2 separate regions of the Homo sapiens genome follow, and region 2 is linked to region 1. The links are contacts of gene promoters, found by promoter capture Hi-C in human tissues and cell types (Jung and others, 2019). All regions are on one chromosome and are shown on one strand. The core of a region is centred on a gene start or on the middle of the fragment in contact, and the rest is flanking DNA. Distances in the headings are between cores, read along the strand shown.

What was found. Contacts are between HindIII fragments. The study calls those that stand out against the background at their distance.
Region 2: a fragment that was not itself captured here is called in contact with the fragment with the promoter of DACH1 in region 1 in 2 of the 25 tissues and cell types used here (lymphoblastoid cells and spleen).

Annotation. Positions count from the first base shown.
Region 1 is chr13:71,864,502-71,869,436 of GRCh38, reverse strand. DACH1 (dachshund family transcription factor 1) reads left to right here and starts at 2,233. Exons shown (of 11, transcript NM_080759.6): 1 at 2,233-3,515. The coding sequence starts at 2,668. The HindIII fragment of the contact is 6,446 bases long and covers 609-4,935 here.
Region 2 is chr13:71,778,567-71,783,501 of GRCh38, reverse strand. All of the region lies in intron 1 of DACH1 (dachshund family transcription factor 1), which reads left to right. Among named protein-coding and RNA genes, the nearest start is that of DACH1, 86 kb to the left of the region's middle. The HindIII fragment of the contact is 5,838 bases long and covers 1-4,935 here.

The DNA of each region.
Region 1 (4,935 bases), core at 984-3,483:
TTTCCCTGCAGTAGAAAATTTGGAGTTTGCTTCGAAGCAAGGTGGGATTATGGCTTGGGCTGCTATCATTACCTCCTGTCTGTAGCTTCCGAATGTGTCAGGTATTGGGTGAGTGATAGTTTAAGGAAATGTAAAAAATGAGAATGGTAATGGCAGATGCTCGGCATTTAATTCCCATTCTTCCATTTGTGGGTCTAGAACTTAAAATAATGAGACTATAGTTTAGTCTTTTAAAACCATATCAAAATTTATTAAAGTTAGGCATAGAATTCGAAAATAAAATTAGCTTTTCAGGGCTTAATACTTTCTTCCTCCCCTCCCCTCATTATAATAGTAGTTTGGTATGTCTTAAAAAAGTAATATTTTCTAAAACATGCAAAAATACTTAAGGAAGTGTTTTGATGTATGTGATATATATTGAATTCCTACTTTTACCCATAACAAATTTGAAGACTGAAACATAAATAAAAATTATTTCTGAATGTATTACAATACATTGGTTAACCAGGCCAAACAACTGTTTAAACTTTAGTTGTCCTTGCAGAAGTTCATGGACTTTTCTGCAACAATCGATTTTCTGAATTCTTATCTCCCAGGAAAGCCTCCTGATTTAACTGCTATGTCCCAAAAATTTTAGTATAATCATACACTAATTAGTCCATAGTGTCATATTTCTATTTTTCGGTAGACAGTTCCTGCACTATTTGACACTGCGATTCACAGAGTTCAAAGGCTTAAAATGATATAGAGAAATGTGATCATTTCAACACCAGAATGGCAAAAATTTTATTATAAAATTTCCCAACCCTGTGAACCTGCTACTAACAGTTTATTTTAAAAATCTGTCAAATGCTAAAGCATTGCTTCATATCTTATGAACTTACTGAACATGTGTGGACCGGTTCAAAGGCTAACTAATTGAAGATACTTGGAGACATGAGCAGCAAATAGATTTGACCCATATTCAAATGATATGTTAGTCAAAAATCCTTGAATAAATACTTCAGTGCAACAAGTTAGAAAAGAAAAGAAAAGGAAAGAGGAAGGAAAGGAGGAATAGAGTCAGTCTAAACTCAGCCTCATGTTGTTTTAAGCACAGCTACCCAAGTCTTTACAAGTCAACTAGTGAGCTTTGTTTTTGTTCTTCCCATTATTTACAAAACATATATTTACTGACAAATTGAAAAGGACTTTCCAAAACTACAGCAGCACTTTTCAAACATGAAAAAAAAAAAAAAAAAACTATTGTGTTGTCCAAAAAACACATTAGCAATTGGCTTTGGGTCTTAAAGGACATGAGGATAGTTGGTTACTGTGTAAGACAGGTGAATTAATTATAGAGTTTTGGGTAAGAAAACCCTTTTTCCACTTTCTAAATCTTCAAGGATACCTTATCTCCTTGATAGCTCTAGGTTTAACAGGTATTTCTGACTGGCTTTTGGGGAGACAGTGAAGTTATTCTAAATCATCCACATCAAGGCAAGCATTTCTTTCCACAACCTATTAGGAAATATGGAATTGAATACAGAGCTTTCCATTATTCTTAAGCGATTTCGGACTGACTTTCTTCTCACCACTTGAAAACTGTCCTGGAATTTTCACTATCTTTATATAAATAAATAATTTAGTAGAGAAATAAACAATCAGATGCAAAAGAACATTACGCTTTGCTTACATGTGAATTTTCCTCAAAATAATTTCTGAATAATCGTGAAGTGGGGGCTGTGTTTTCGTTTCTAGCTCATTGCCAAAACGCGTGGAGATGGATCCTAAATCCTGGAAGGAGAGAGCTCGGCGCGCTCAGGCTCCTCTTTAAGTTGGCGGGCGATTGTTTAGAAGCTTTGGAAAAAATTACCAGTCCCCGCGGACGAAATGGAATGTGAGACATGCAATCTAACGGTAGTAGTAGAAGAGAAGTAGATGATCTCCCTCTCCTTTTCCGATCGCCACTTCTGTGTCCCCGGCTTTTCCTCTCCGTCCCTCCCACAGTTTCTTTCCGTATCCTCCCCCTCCCCTCCTCCTTTCCTCGCACGCTCCCTCTCCAGTGTCTCGCGCTCTCGGAGTCTCTGCTCCGAGTTCCTGGTTGGATAATTTGGGTTAATACTAGTGAGTGAGGTTTTTGCGGCTTCAAAGGGTATTTCAAGTTTCCGGAGCTCCTCCCCTCTGCACCGTGTGACAACAACAACTCGTCCAGCCGGCAGCCTGCACTTTTCAGCTCATTTTCTCTCTGTCATTCCCCTCTCAATCTTTGATCAATGTACTTGCCAGGGAGAGCCCAAGTCCTTCAAACCTCCTCCTTTTCACCTTCATCCTTAACTTTGTGCTAGAGCGAGACCCACACAACAACAGCCGACCCTCCCCGCCCCACCCCCACCCCCAAACCAGCCCTCGATCCCAGCCCCCGGAGAGGACTCGCATTTCGACTTGCGGGACACTTTTGTGCGTTCCTCTCCAGAGCGCCTCTCGTGCTCGCCCCTCTTGCGCTCGCTCTTTATTACCTTCACCTCCTTTTCTCCCCCTTCTCTCCCTTTCTCCTTCTCGTTCTCTCCCGGAGTTGTTGTTGCCCCCCTCGCTCCTTCTCCCCCCTTTTTTCCCCTTCCCCTCCCGGGGGTGTGTGGCAACTTTTCCTCTCGCTTCTCCTCCGTCTGTTTCCCCTTATATGTGACCATGGCAGTGCCGGCGGCTTTGATCCCTCCGACCCAGCTGGTCCCCCCTCAACCCCCAATCTCCACGTCTGCTTCCTCCTCTGGCACCACCACCTCCACCTCTTCGGCGACTTCGTCTCCGGCTCCTTCCATCGGACCCCCGGCGTCCTCTGGGCCAACTCTGTTCCGCCCGGAGCCCATCGCTTCGGCGGCGGCGGCGGCGGCCACAGTCACCTCTACCGGCGGCGGCGGCGGCGGCGGCGGCAGCGGAGGCGGCGGCGGCAGCAGCGGCAACGGAGGCGGCGGTGGCGGCGGCGGCGGTGGCAGCAACTGCAACCCCAACCTGGCGGCCGCGAGCAACGGCAGCGGCGGCGGCGGCGGCGGCATCAGCGCTGGCGGCGGCGTCGCTTCCAGCACCCCCATCAACGCCAGCACCGGCAGCAGCAGCAGCAGCAGTAGCAGCAGCAGCAGCAGCAGCAGTAGTAGCAGCAGCAGCAGTAGCAGCAGCAGCTGCGGCCCCCTCCCCGGGAAACCCGTGTACTCAACCCCGTCCCCAGTGGAAAACACCCCTCAGAATAATGAGTGCAAAATGGTGGATCTGAGGGGGGCCAAAGTGGCTTCCTTCACGGTGGAGGGCTGCGAGCTGATCTGCCTGCCCCAGGCTTTCGACCTGTTCCTGAAGCACTTGGTGGGGGGCTTGCATACGGTCTACACCAAGCTGAAGCGGCTGGAGATCACGCCGGTGGTGTGCAATGTGGAACAAGTTCGCATCCTGAGGGGACTGGGCGCCATCCAGCCAGGAGTGAACCGCTGCAAACTCATCTCCAGGAAGGACTTCGAGACCCTCTACAATGACTGCACCAACGCAAGGTGAGTCGGGGGGGATAGCCCCCGCCGCCCGCGCCCCTTCCCACCAGCCTGCTCGCCTGCCCTCGCTCCTTTCCCGGCGCCGCTCGCTCTGCGCGCCCGCGAGCCGCGCGCCCCGGCGAGCGCGGCCCTCTCCTCTCCCTGCTCGGGGCTCGCCAGCCGCGCCCGACCCCCTGAGAAGTTGGCACCTCACCCTGCCCAGACCTCGCTCTTCGGCCCGGTCCTCCCCTTGCCCTCTGGGTCCCGGGGATGGGCTGCTGTGGGATGTGGGAAAGCCGAGCCTCGGGGCGGAGGGGACGAGAGGGAGGAGGACGGCGCCTTTGCTGGAGCCACAGCCCCCTGCCCCGGGCGCGCGGGCGCCTGGAGACCCCTCTCAGCGCTGCTGTCCGCGTTCGTGCGCTCCCCAGGACCTGGGTTCCACGGCCAGCCTCCCGGCACCGACAGGGCTGATCTGTGGCGCCGAGCGGTGTCCCGGGGGCGGGGGGAGGTCGTGACCTGCTCCGCAGGGCTCGGGGAGCGGGGAGACGCGCTCCGGGTGAGGGCCCCGCTGGGAAAGGCGAGGGAGCGGACCAGCACCCGAGGAGGGCACTTTGAGGTCGGGAGGGAAATGACCCGCGAAGCTGAGAGACCGGGTCCATCCCGGGGGATGGGCTCCGGGGACTTGAGCTCCGAAGCCCGGAGGGGAAGCCAGCCGAGGGGAGGGGTCTGTGTGTTCGCGCATGTGTGCGTGTGTCCGCGTGTGAGCGAGTGCGTGTGCAAAGGAAATAAAGGGGTACGGTGGCCCCGGGGCAGATGCGAGGGCAACCAGCAGGTTTTCTTCGGTAGGGGGAGGTGACCGATTGCCCGAGACTCAATGGAAGCTGAACTGGAGAGATTAGGAAGGAAAGCCACGGAGCGCGCTCTCTCTCGATCTCTCTTTCGAGTTCTCTGTCTCTTTCTCTCCAAAGTGTGTTTTCTTTCTGTCTTTCTCTCTCTTTTCTTTTCTTAAAGGTTAGTAGCTTAAGCAGCGAGCAGGTGCACACTTTGCACTGGGATGCTCAGCGGCCCTGATACTCTGTGCCTTGGCTTCCCCAGCCCAGCAAAGCGCGCGCACGGAGGAGGCGGCGGGACCGGTCCCCAGCCAGACCAGTTTTATGCTAATGAACGCTCAGTGGGGGAGGATCTACCAAGAGGGGGCGGGAGTGGGGCAACTTGTCAGTTTCGGGGTAGAGATGATCATTCCACCCCCTTTCACAGCGCCGCTTTGTCCCCACGGTTCTCTGCAAGGAAGCGCAGAGGCAAAAGTTCAGAGTGAGATTCCGGGAGAAAGAAAATAGGGAAAGTTGAAGACCTGAAGCGGGCACGTGGGAACTGCGCGCAAAATTTGCGCAGAAACTTCGGTACCCTCCAAATAAGTTTGAAGATTGAGAGAAGGAGCGGAGTT
Region 2 (4,935 bases), core at 796-3,295, 86 kb after region 1:
TATAATTACTGTTATCACATTATTTTTATCTTACATTTTTGGAACCTCTGCCTGTCCTTTGATAGGAAAACATAAGCGGGGATCTTGATCTTGTTTGTATATGTTAGTGACTAAATTTCATCTCTTTCTTTTCTGTAGGAATATTAAGTACCTTTTCCTAGACTTTAGTTATAAGTTTATGTTCAGAATGAGAATGGAACTTGATAGTGATTAGCCAGTTTTCACCGTATTTTGTTCATCTTGAGTTGCCTTTTATTGTTTTATGAAGGCATCACTATGGATCTAATACAGCTATCTTTAGGTTTTGATGTTAGACCTCCAAATCCCTTACATGTCATAATCTTTCTGGTGATAGTGTTGTAACTCCTTTCTCTGTGCAGGAACGTGTGTACGTCTGTGTGTATAGCCACTGACTGGTCTTTTGAAGCAATGCCTTTATCTTTGTTGTTATCTTTCACTGTCAATGCCAGTTTCTTATTATTGATCCTTCCCTCTTTCACTGTCAATGCCAGTCTCTTATTATTGATCCTTCCTGTGATAATGGCTTGAGGGACTTTGAGGAATAATTTTTAAAAAATATTTTTGGTGGAAGAAATCTTCTTACTTTGAAGAAATTAGATAAAATAATTTCAACTTTGGCTGACAAATCCTGCCCTCTCGTTGGTTTATTAGCCTGCAATAATACCTATTACTACACTGTCTAGATTCAAATGTGCACAAATAACTGTCATGAATAAGTATTTTATTTTTGATTTCTCAGGATTGTTAGGTATGAAAATGAAGGTAAAAACTCTGGTTTAGTGCCTGCCAGAGTACGCACTATGGGAAAAAGCAGATGAATGGATGCTGATGACTAAGATAGTTCCTGATGCTGTGATTTTTATGGGAGATTTGTAAAGAAACTATTCACTTTAACACAAGATAATATTTGATACAAACTTTACCAGTAATACAGATTATTAGGCACTGGGACTACTGGAAGGATAAGAACACAAACATTTCTTTTTCAGTTTATTTATTTATTTTATTTTTATTTCTATTTTGTTTATTTATTTATTTATTTGAGACAGTCTCCTGCTGTCCACAGGCTGGAGTGCAGTGGCATGGTCTGCACTGACTTCAACCTCTGCCTCCCAGGTTCAAGCAGTTCTTCTGCCTCAGCCTCCTTAGTGGCTAGGACTACAGGCATGCATCACCATGCCCAGCTAATTTTTTGTATTTTTAATAGAAACGGGGTTTCACCATTTTGGCCAGGCTGGCCTTGAACTCCTGACCTCAAGCGATCCACCTGCCTTGGCCTCCTAAAGTGCTGGGATTACAAGTGTCAGCCACCAGGCCCAGCCACAAACATTTATTTTCTAATGAAATGATGTTTAATGGGTTTTGCAGAATAGGAGGATGAGACATGAGTGAAATGTGTCCATTTTGCCTGAAACTTAAGGGTCTGTAGGATGATGAGATAGTTACAGCTTTGGAGATATATTTTACTGGGCAACCAATGTCTAGTTGAGAAATTGGTACTTATTGCAGTAATCAGTGTAGCATCATTCAAGCTTTCTGAAGATGGGATGATCTGATCCAATTCAACATTTTAAAAACATATGTAAAGGTTCACAAACCTTTTGTGTAGTGTGTGTCAGAAAACAGAAATAAGGAAATGTTATACTGAACTGAGGTTGCCAACTCATATCTCATAGAAACATCATTTTGTTCAGTCCAGAGTGATCTTTGAACCACATGAATTATGCATCAAATTTACCATGAAAATTCCAAAGAAAAATCATAATTGTTAGGTCGTCTAAGAATCCTAAAGATCTGGACCTTGGCCAGGCATGGTGGCTCACGCCTGTAATCCCAGCACTTTGGGAGGCCGAGGCGGGCGGATCACGAGGTCAGGAGATCGAGACCATCCTGGCTAACACGGTGAAACCCCGTCTCTACTAAAAATAGAAAAAATTAGCCGGGCGCTTTGGCGGGTGCCTGTAGTCTCAGCTACTTGGGAGGCTGAGGCAGGAGAATGGCATGAACCCAGGAGGCAGAGCTTGCAGTGAGCCGAGATGGTGCCACTGCACTCCAGCCTGGGTGACAGAGCTAGACTCCGTCTCAAAAAATAAATAAATAAATAAATAAATAAATAAATAAATAAATAAATAAAAATAAAAAAGATCTGGACCTAGTGTTGGCATGGCAACAGTTCTCTAGAGGTGAGTTACAGTTGCTTCCTTTCTGTGGACCTGTGTGCAGGTTCACTGTGGTTCCCACAGGATTTGTTTGTTCCCTGCCTGGTTCTTGAGGCATTTGAGCTTGTGGCCTTTATTATAACCTAATGAACCAAAGGGAAGGCACAGTGAAAGTTTCAAACTTACCATAACAAAATCTCGCTCTGTCACCCAGGCTGGAGTGCAGTGTCACTATCATAGCTCACTGCAGCCTCAACCTCCTGGGCTCAAGTGATCCTCCCACCTTAGCCTCCCAAGTAACTGGACTACAGGCACGTGCCACCACACCCAGCTAATTTATTTTTATTTTTTGTAGAGATAAGGTCTCGCTATGTTGCCCATGCTGGTCTTGAATTCCTACGTTCAGGTAGTTCTCTTGCCTTGGCCTCCCAAAATGCTGGGATTGCAGACATGAGCCACTGAGACCGGCCTATTCTTAGCAATAATTTGAAAATGTATTTCACTATTCAGGGAGTGTAACAAGAAAGTTAAACAAAACATTAAAAAGGCAGGAAAGAAAGTGATTTCACTTTTATAGCACATTTTTTATTTTACCAAAGGAAGAGTAAAAGTTAAGTGAAGGAAGAGAGGGGAGAGAGGAACATTCTTTTCATTAAGAGAATTTTTTTTTTTTTTTGAGATGAAGTCTCTCTCTGTCGCCCAGACTACAATGCAGTGGCGTAGTCTTGGCTCACTGCAACCTCCGTCTCCCAGGTTCAAGAGTAGATTTTCAACACTGATAATTCTATCAACTTGTAGCTAATTTTCAAAAATATGTGGTAGCCTCTGTTTCATACCGTGTTATTTGTAATGCCCTGCATATTTTATTTGATATGTTTTATAAGGGATAAACAAAATAATATATTTAATCTAAATATACATAAAGTGCTCCAGAATCCTCTGAAATTTAAATGATAGTGTCAATGTAAAAATAATGTTATTATTTGATTGATCACATAAAAATGTTAATATCATATAAATTTATATAGCACAATGAAAAAACTCTAAAATGCCTCACTGAACCTTCCTCAGTTCCCTCAACTTGCCAAGCTCTTTCTAACTTTTCAGTCTTTGTGTATGCTTTTTTATCTGGAAGCCTCTCCCGTTCTTTCCCTTGCTGATGTAATTCCTATTCTGGTCACAGTTCTTTTTAAATCTCTATTGATCTTTACCTGACCCTTATCCCCCAGTAATGTTTTATGGTTTACACAGCCTTTTTATATATAATATCCCATTTGATCCTTATTATTTTCATTCATTCATTCATTCATTCATTCCTTCCTTCATAGGATGTTTTTGAAGCACCCACAATATGCCAGGCACTAATATAGAGAAGAGGTTTCCAGAGATTTAATAAAGAGTTTTTGTTCTCAGCTCACAATATAGTAGGAAAGAGAAATAAGTCTGCATAATTCTCTGTGGTGAGTCCAAAACTTGAGATTTGCACAAGTAGAAACATAAAATAGGTGGATGCGGTTGAGTAGAGGTGGCCAGGGATGGGAAGGAAAAAGACAGGGAAACTTTTTTGTTGAATTTTGAAGATGTCAAAGAAGAGATCTGGGAATAGAGGGGAAAGGAGAGGTGGAGAGGTAGCAAGTATCTCCATCACTCCATGAAATGGAACTATTTTTGTTTGGTGTGGTTATTGTTTTACCACTTGAGCTTCCAATATGGTTTAGGTTGTATGCAAAGCGCTCTGCAAGCATTAAGTCACTCATTTTATTAAATGACTCAGTAAAGTAAGTACTTTTTACAAGCAAAAAGTTGGAGGTCCAGAGAAATTAATGTGTCTTACTCAAAGTATATTTTGCGTTGCCACTTTCTGCATTCTATTTTCTAAATGGTGATGTTAAAAGGGTATAGCTGTTCTTTCTCAGATATCTGGATGTGAATGAAGTTAAGTTTTGTTCTAAAATCCAAAATCAAACTCTTAAAACGTTTTCTGTTACCTTTGCATGTTATATATATATGTATATAAATATATATATGTGTATATATACGTATATACGTATATATACACATATATACGTATATACGTATATATGTGTATATATACGTATATACGTATATATATACACATATATACGTATATACGTATATATGTGTATATATATACGTATATACGTATATATGTGTATATATGTGTATATATGTATATATGTGTATATATGTATATATATATATTCAGCCCTTTGTTTTTGTTAAATTCTCATCTTTTCACTATATCCACACTGTAAGAAAGTTTGACTTAGGTATGACAGAAGAAAAGGTATCAAAGTTAAGTCTTGCAAAATGCCATTCAAATCTTGCTGAAAAAGGGGAGCAACTTTCTTTTCTAAATCTGTGTATATGAATGGTTACAATGAAAATATCACATAAAGCTCCAACTTTCTGGTATCTGCCTTTCTTTAGTGATCATTTGATAAACAAATGCCATGTTAGACCAGTGTTTCTCCTAGGGTAACAATTCTATAAACTATACCAGAACAAATTTATTGTTTCCAAGTTTAATTTTTTGGAAATGTTATTCTTAAAGAAATGATAAATATATGAAATTCTGAAAGGAGCTTACTATGTGTTTCAAGAGCTATGCTTAAAACATATGATTTCTACATATTGTTAGCAGAGGAAAGTTGCAGTTTATATTTCTTTACTTTCATTATAAGAATTTTTTTTATAAACTATTATAAAGAAAACAATAGTTATGCCTTTTGAA